Linked DNA regions of Homo sapiens: region 1 is linked to region 2. The links are contacts of gene promoters, found by promoter capture Hi-C in blood cells and fetal thymus (Javierre and others, 2016). All regions are on one chromosome and are shown on one strand. Each heading gives the region's core, a stretch centred on a gene start or on the middle of the fragment in contact. The rest is flanking DNA. Distances are from core to core; before and after follow the strand shown.

What was found. Contacts are between HindIII fragments. The CHiCAGO score rates a contact against its expected background, and 5 or more counts as called.
Region 1: a fragment that was not itself captured here is called in contact with the fragment with the promoter of VTA1 in region 2 in 1 of 17 cell types (total CD8 T cells); the score reaches 7.2 in total CD8 T cells.

Annotation. Positions count from the first base shown.
Region 1 is chr6:139,377,799-139,382,509 of GRCh38, forward strand. No RefSeq gene overlaps it. Among named protein-coding and RNA genes, the nearest start is that of CITED2, 5.5 kb to the left of the region's middle. The HindIII fragment of the contact is 6,226 bases long and covers 1-4,711 here.
Region 2 is chr6:142,145,151-142,149,260 of GRCh38, forward strand. VTA1 (vesicle trafficking 1) reads left to right here and starts at 2,113. Exons shown (of 8, transcript NM_016485.5): 1 at 2,113-2,249. The coding sequence starts at 2,138. It overlaps NMBR (neuromedin B receptor), which reads right to left and starts at 1,972. Exons shown (of 4, transcript NM_002511.4): 1 at 1,894-1,972. RefSeq lists enhancers at 1,842-2,136, 1,900-2,039, 2,294-2,814. The HindIII fragment of the contact is 1,973 bases long and covers 1,542-3,514 here.

The sequences.
Region 1 (4,711 bases), core at 1,734-4,233, 2.8 Mb before region 2:
GGTTTCCCGGCAATCTTTGGTGTCCCTTGACTTGTAGATGCATCACACTGATCCCCACCTTCATCTTCATGTGACGTTTTCCACCCCCCGCCCCCCTGTATGTGTATCTCTGTGTCCAAAGTTCCCCTTTTGACAAGGACTCTAGTCCTTTTGGATTAGGGCTTCTCCTACTGGCCTCATGTTAACTTGATCACCTCTATAAGCTCCTGACTCCAAAGAAGGTCATATTCTGGAGGTTAGAACTCCAACATATCTCCAAGATATTTTTGCGGGGACACAATTTGACTAATAACAGTGGTAAATAAACTGAGTAATACAAGACCCCTGCTGCTGACAAAGAAAGTTGCCACCTGGAACTGTCTTCCCAGACGTCCTACTGGCCCATATTCTCATTTCTTCATGTCTCTGCTCAAATATCACCTCAACAAACTCTCCCTGACTGTCCTACCCAAATAGCAATATCTCTCTTGTTTCCTTGCCCTGCTTTATGTTTCATCTTAGAGTATCTTCCTACCTGACATGCTGCATGGTAAATTGACAGTTTACTGCCTTCCCCATTAGAATGACAGCTCCATGAGAGCAGAGACCTAGCCTGGTTGTTCATTCACTGTCTGAAACAAGTCCTGGCAGGTATTAGACTTTTACTAATTGAAGGGTGAATGCATGAATAAAATATGGCATTGGCACTATGGGAACCCCAATGAGGGGCCAAGGAAGACTTTCTGGAGAAGGTCACTCTCAAGGCTGGAGGTAGGCCAGGTGCAGTGGCTCACACCTGTAGTCCCAGAACTTTGGGAGGTTGAAGTGGGAGGATCACTTGAGCCCAGGAATTCGAGACCAACCTGGGCAACATCTTGAGATCCTGTCTCAACAAAATAAAATTAGAAAATGAGCTGGGTGTGGAGGTGCATACCTGTAGTCCTAGATACTGGGGAGGCCGAAGCGGGGGGATTGCTTGAGCCCAGGAGTTCGAGATTGCAGTGAGCTGTGATCACACTACTCCACTCCAGCCTTGGCAATAGAGTGAGACCTTCATCCCTTCTACCAAAAAAAAGCTGGAGGTAGAAAAGTCAAGTGGAAAAGGAGAACAGCAGCTTACCTTTGTCTGCATTGTGGCAGCCACTTGGGCAAAACTGTTATCTGTTTGGGAAGATGACTCACCTGGGCATCACTGACTGCTGAGTAATGGACAAAGGTCCCCATTGGTGTGAACTTTTGACTGAAACAAGTTTTTAGAGGTGAGTCTCTGGCTTTAGCTAAAACCTGAATTGAGAAAAGGCTGACTGAAGGACCCAGCTTCAAAAAATATATTGAAAGACCTCATACTTGTGTGGTGCAGCTAGGGAAGGGAGGAAGGTGAGATTTAGCACTGTATTTTGTACGTTATTTAAATTATCTCAGCTGAGGGCAGTGACTCATGCCCACAATCACCAGCACTTTGGGAGGCTGAGGTGGGAGAATTGCTTAAGCCCAGAAGTTTGAGACCAGCCTAGGCAATATGGCAAAACCCCAGACTCTACAAAAAATATGAAAAGTAGCTGAGCATGGTGGTGCATGACTGTAGTTCCAGCATCTCAGGAAGCCGCGAAGCTGAGGTGGGAGCATTACTTGAGCCCAGGAGGTCAAGGCTGCAGGTCGAGGTCGAGGTCGTGCCACTGCACTCCAGCCTGGGTGACAGAGCAAGACCTTGTCTCAAAAAAAATAAAACCCAAAAAACAAAACAACAAAATGAAACAAAACCCCAAAGCTCACTTAATCCTCAATGTAAGGAGTAGGGATTACTTTCATCACTTTAGTAAGGAGGACTTTGAGTCTCAGAGAATCTTTTAAAAATAAAAATAAAAACAATGAAAAACATGGCCACCTTCTCAGAAGGAGAGGAATAGGGAAAAGAGGAGAGAGGTAGCCAGAGAGTCTGTTAACACATGATTTAATAGTGACAGAGGCCCTATATGCAACCTGGTGTTATCTGCAAACTGAATAATGTCTTACATGTAGTATATATGTCAAACTGAGATGTGAATATCACTTTTAAACATGTAAACTTGGTTCTAACTCATAAAATACAAATTCACTTGAAATTATTACCAAACTCATAATAGTTTTTCTGTCTTTAGGTATTTTTTCATTCAAGAGAAATATAGCCATTATCACGTAGAGGTCAATGAAATGTTTGTATTAAAGGGTCTTTAAATTGATGAAGTTGGTACTATCCCGCTTGAGAATTTGATTAAAATAAATATTTTAGGATGTCATTCCTGGAGTTCTTGATTCATCAGGCTGGGAGTGGGGCCTGAGGAGCTGTATATTTTTTAAAAGCTCCCGGTTGGTTCTGATATTTAGCTAGGTTTGCAAACAGCCAACCTTGTTTATAGGTTGATGACAACTGGGGTCATTCTCACAGGGTTCATGGGTGTACTGTGAACCTGGTTCACACTCATAATGTCCAGTTTCCCTGGACTGCCACCCGTTTCCTCTCCGCCTCCCGCCCATGACTGGAATTTTGCCTGTCTTTGAAGGCCCAGCTCAGATGACATTTCCTCTTTTTTAGCCTCCCCTGATCCCCTAGATGGCAAGAATTCTGGCTCGTTGGTGCTTCCAGGGCAATTTACTCAGATCTTCTTTTTTGACCTATTCTGACTTGAGTTATGGGTATTTGTATTCTTCTGTAACCTTCTCTGTGATGGCAGAGGTTCCCAGGTGAGCTCCAAGGGGCTGCAAAATGTCGTGCACAGAATAAGGTCAACCTTCGACAGATGCCTCTCGACTTACCATGGGGTCATGCTCTGATAAACCCCGTTCTATAAGTTGAAAACATCATCTGTGAAACCATCATAAGCCAGGAGCATGTGTATAAGTTTGCTAGTGCTGCTAGGGCTGCCATAACAAAATATCAGCCTGGGAGGCCTAAATAACAGAAATGTATTTCCTCATAGTTGTGGAGGCTGAAAGTCCATGATCAAAGTGTCAGGACCCCTCTCCTTGGCTTGCAGATGGCTGCTTCTGGTGTGTCTTCACATGGTCTTTCCTCTGTGCACAGGAAACCCTGGTGTCTCTTTCGTGTGTCCAAATTTCCTCTTCTTATGAGGACATCAGTCAGATTGGATTAGGACCCTCCCTAATGTCCTCATTTTAACTGAATCACCTCTTTAAAGACCTTATCTCTAGTTATGGTTACATTCTTAGATACCGGGAGTTAGCTGTCAGCAGAGGAATTTGGGTGGGGGTACAATTCAGCCTATATAACACACGTCACATATAGATTCTTTTTTAGATAATTGGCATTTTCTTAGTCTGCAGCTTTAACAATAAGCTAGAGAACATTCACATTGGTTTTGAAGTTGGATGAGGTATGTTGGAAAGCAGAAGAAAAATTCAGTGACCTTAAATAATTAGAAAAACACTCTATCAAAAACAAGATTATGTTCAATAAGAAAAACTGCAGAGGCTTCACGAGGACAATAACAAATTACATGGGTATTGGATGGGAAATTATTGAGTAGATATAACAAGTTCAGCCAAAAACCAAACCAAAACAAAACTGCGGGTCCTCCTAAGCTATTGGTTGAATCAGAGGCAGCCACGGAATGCTGTTATTGAAAAGGACACAACTCGGAGTATATCAGGAGTGAGAATCACATGACAGAGCTGGAAGTAATCCTTTTGCTACACTGGGCTCTTCTGAGAGATCATGGTTAGTTTGCAACTTTACCTTTTAATAAAGAGTTACCAAAACCAAAGAAAGTTCATTGAAAAAAAAAAAAGGAAATATATTTTTAAAGGGACGGGAAATGGGACTTATAATGGCTATTTAATCTGGGGAAGAAAAAGCTGACAGGTGACTTAATACATATGTTCTGGTCTACATAGAGGAAAACTAATATGGTGGATCCTTTCCAGATGTTTTCCTTTTCCACTGAGACAAAGAAAAAAGGAAGGCGTTTTTAAAAAGAGAGCTTTAGATCAGTGGTTTCCAAATTTGTGTTCTGTAGATGTTGTGTATTCTCAGCTTCACTTTTAAGTGCTTTATATATTAAGGGTTTCTGTTTGTTTTAAAAACATATTGTTCTGATGTTAAACAGTTATGAAAACTAATGCTTTGGATAATACATAAAAATCATAGAATTCTAGTGTGGGTAGGACTTTTAAAAATAATCTTATCCAAACTCCTTCCTTTTCTAGATGAGAAATCTGAGGTCCTGAGAGGTTAAGTGACTTGCTCATAAAGGACTTCCTAACCATCAGGATTTAAAAACACTGGTATGGATTATCGGAGCAGACCAAGTCTTTATGAAGACTTCACTGAAGTGAAATAGAGATGTGTTGAGTGGTTTTTTAGATCAGCGTTTCCCAGCTGATGTTCTATATTATAGGTGGATAGGATTGCAGAAGACAGTAATAGAATCTATATCAATTTCTACTTTTAAAACAGTGGGAATTAAAATCATTTAAAAGTAGTTTTCCAGTTCAAAATGGAAGTTTGGGGCTGGGTGCAGTGGCTCACGTCTTTAATCCCAGCACTTTGGGAGGCTGAGGCAAGAGGATGGCTTGAGCCCAGGAGTTTGAGACCATCCTGGGCAACATGGAGAGACTTTGTTTCTACAAAAAAAAATTTGAGGCTGGGCACGGTGGCTCACACCTGTAATCTCAGAACTTTGGGAGGCTGAGGCGGGTGGATCACAAGGTCAGGAGATCGAGACCATCCTGGTTA
Region 2 (4,110 bases), core at 863-3,362:
CAGTCCTGCTCATGAGGGTATGCAAATAAGAGTACACATGAATGTATGCAAATGAGAAAGAGTGGCAAAATTCACTTCTGAAGGGGGAGATCAGGAGAGTAACAGGAGGGTGCAGCCTTCTACCAGGAAGAGGAACATTTGTTTCTCAGACATAAGATGATGGAATAGAGAAAAGATAAAACATAAGATCTAGAAAGACATCATAGTCAAGTAGTAATGGCTAGGTGCACAGGCTCTGAAACCAAAATACCTAGATTTTAATGTGGAATACTCATCCTTCCTGGCTGTGACCTAGTGCAAGTTATCTAGATTCTATGTGTCTTATTTTTCTCATCTGTAAAATAATAATGATATGTTCCTCATAGGGTTGTGGTGCAAATTAAATAAATTAATATAAAGACCCTAGAAACATGCATGATACATAGTTGATGCTCAGCAAATGCTGCTAGCTAGTTATTATTACTTTAAGTTGTGGTAGAGGCAAGGCAAAATAATTCATATCTGGTGGTGGCCTTAATCTCAATAGCAGGAAATGCTGTTGTAGACCAAGGAAATTGGGGCTGAGTGCCTAGCTTGAATAGAGCGAGAGAAGTTTGAAACACCATCTGTGGACTACAGCACTGGTCCTTAACCCTAGACGTAACATTAAAATTACATGAGGACCTTTTAAAGATACTGACATTTAGGATCCCACCTAGAACAATTAAGTGAGAATGCCTGGAGTGGGCTTTAAAGTTGATCTTTAAGGGCAGCTGCGGTTGAGAATCAAGAAGTAATAGGAAACAAATAAATGAAAAGTTGTGAGTATAGAAAGAAAACAGTTATGGTTATCCAACTCTGCTTTTCTTCATTGATTTCTCTACCAATCTAGCAACTTTTGACTGGAAAGTCCAAATAGTGGGAGTAAGAGAAAGAGAAAGAAACCATACATTCTCCAGTGGTAGGAAATATGCCGCTGAGATTGGGGAAGAAGACAGAACTGAGTTTCAGGCTGAGTAAAAAAGCCCGACCCAGAATAAGATGATGGACTTTGCAAATAGGTCTAGGCAACGTATGTGGAGTGGGATAATATGAGGACATGGAGCGGTTTCTTCTGGGGGTGAGAGAGTGATCAGAAAATAGTAGGCAGAGGGGAATTTCCGAGCTGGAGATTTTGGCTCTTGGGGATAGTGTGATTTCAGTGAAAACTAGTTTTAAGATGAATTGTCAAAACTGAGGACTGAGATAAAATAAAGAAGGTTATTGGAGGAAGTAAATAAAGTGTACAGTCCTGAAAGATATAAGTAAGGGATGGAGAGGAGAGGAAGAGAATTGAAGTCATTGAGGGTAGAAGGAAAAGTGATGCCTACTGTACAATGGTTAAGAGTTACCAGCGTTGAAAACGTCCCAAACACCCTATCTTACATTAAGACAAGATAATAAATATGAAAATACTTTACAAATTGTTAATCACTCTCCAGAAAAAAAAAAGGTGATCTACAGATTATTCATTCACTAAAATACGTACTAGCCAGCTGAGAACAAAAGTTCAATCTTCTTTAAGCTTCATATGTTTAGCTTAATTTGGCGCGAAATCTGATTATTTTATCCAGTATGTCAACATAGAAAAATTTAATTTACAATTTAAACACATTATTTCTCTCTCATGCAAGTATTGAAATTAAAGTTTCTAAAATCAAAAAGGCTTCTAAAGGACACTGCTATATGGAATATTAATGTGGCATATTAACTGGAAGTGGTAATTCCTGAATGACGCCAAAGGCAATTCTCGCCTTTATACTTTCTCCCAGTCAACATACATTATTTTCTTGTTTTTCCTTTTCTATCCTTCCTTTTGCCACAAACAACAAACCAAACAAAAAAGCAAAACAAAACAAAAACCCTTCCTCCTACCAGCAGAGAGCGCTAGCGCCATGCGCGGCATAAGCGCCAAAATGCTCGGGTCTTCTGTGGGTTCTAACCGCCGAGAGCCAAGCACCCTGAGGTTGTCCCAGCTGGGGATCCGTAGTTGACTTGACGTCGCTGAGCAACGGAAGAGTGGGCAGCATTTGCTCTGAACGCTCGTGCGCGCTACCGCCCAGACGGAAGCGGAAGTGCCGGTGGAGCGCGAGTAGGAAGTGGTGAGTTCGGAGTAGAGATGGCCGCGCTTGCACCGCTGCCCCCGCTCCCCGCACAGTTCAAGAGCATACAGCATCATCTGAGGACGGCTCAGGAGCATGACAAGCGAGACCCTGTGGTGGCTTATTACTGTGAGTCTTTCCGAGTGGCCGCGCCCTTTCTTTCCCAGTTGCATTTTAGGGCCCACACACCTCCCTGAGGTTCTTGGGGCATGCCCCGCCCCCCTCGCTTTAAACCTGAGCTTTGACCTCGAGCCTACCCAGGGAACTCCCTGGGTTCCCACCCCCTGGCAGTAGGAATCCCAAAACACCATGGTGTCCACTGCTTCTCCTATCTTGTGCTTAAATGCTCCAGTACTGACTACACAGGCTCTTGAACTGTGGAATATAATCTTCCAAGGTTTTCTCTGTGTGTGTACACACAAGAGCTTCTTGTCTCAAATAGGAATCCTGAAAATAAATTGAGTTAGGTTTAAAACGAAGGTGAGTGTCCGAAAGAAGGAGTGATGTGGATAAAAGGACGATAGACTAGTTGAAAACATAGTAATAAGTGAATATTATTTATGACAGCATGCAAGCCCAATCAGAAACTCATTTGGTTAAATGGGGAGTATCTGCTACTAAATAAGCAGTTGAATTTGACCTTTCCCCACCCAGCTGCTCTCTCCTACCATGCAGAATTTTTAGTTTTGACTTCTTTGAATAATACCCGCTGTTGAGACCTTTGAAAGCAGTATTTTCACTTTGAGTGTTATACGTTGAATTTACAGTTTGATTAAAAAAAATATAGGTTAACTCTGCTCAAACTTGTAGTGAGTAAAGGGAGTGCCAGTAATTCTGTGTTAACTTTATTTTGTATTCTGTACTCTTAACTTTACTGCAAATAAAACAAGTAACTGGACAATTATAATTCTGAAAAGGATATTTAGAGTTGAGAAGTTGGATATAATGCGTCCATTGTTGTGTATATTGTAAGGTTAGCTAAAATCTGGTCACTGTTATCTCTGCCATACTCCAAATGTACCCTGTTTCTCAAATGTGCAAGGCCTTTTCAGACCTACCATCTTCCACTCTCTTGGAATGTGCACCTTTTTCTTGCACTTGGCAAACTCATGATTCAAGATCTAACCCAAATGTCACCACTTCTGTGGGCAGCAAATTGATTATTCTCTGTGCATTACTTCATTTTGTTCAAATTTTACAGCATCATTTTTATTATACTTGTTCTTCAGTTTCCTCAAGCAGGGTCCATATTCATTCAGTATGTGTTCATTGAGCTACCTTTGTATCAAGCATTAGTAGGCGCTGTGACTACATTTGCTGCATTTTTGGAGCTTACATACAATGGAGGTAGAGAGTTTCAACAATATAGAGTCTATCATACATAGAGTATTAAAAGCTTATGAAGACAAATAGAGCAAGGAAAAGGAATAAGAGTATCAGGAGTAGTGGTGGCAGGGAGTGCAGATGGGATTTCAGTTTCATAGTGGTCAGGAACACTTCACTGAATTGACATTTGGGGAAATAAAAGAGTGAAAGGCATACCTTGCACCATCTGGGAAAGAGTATTCTCCATAGAGGTTATAAAAGTCCCGAAGTAGAGGCTTGCTGGAAGGAGGAGTAAGTAGACTATTGTGACTGGAGTGGATGGGGCTTGGGAGTGATGGGATAAGGTCAAAGAATCTCTCATCCCTAAAGGAAATTCCTGTTCCCGATCCCTGTATCATGTATCTTTGTGACAAACCAGGGACACCTTACTCACTGTCGTCCTTTCCCTCTAGATTTTTCTAAACCTAATCCAGTTTCCTTTATTTAAAAATATAACATAAACTCTCACCATATCATTCCCTAAAGTTGCAGCTCTGCTTTTCCAGCCTTATAGGTAAGTTTGAAATAGTTGTCCATAAGTTAGCTTTACGCCTTTATCTTGTAGAGCCTTTCAGCCCATGCAGTCTGGTTTTCATGCCCAGTATTTCACTGAAACTGCTCTCAT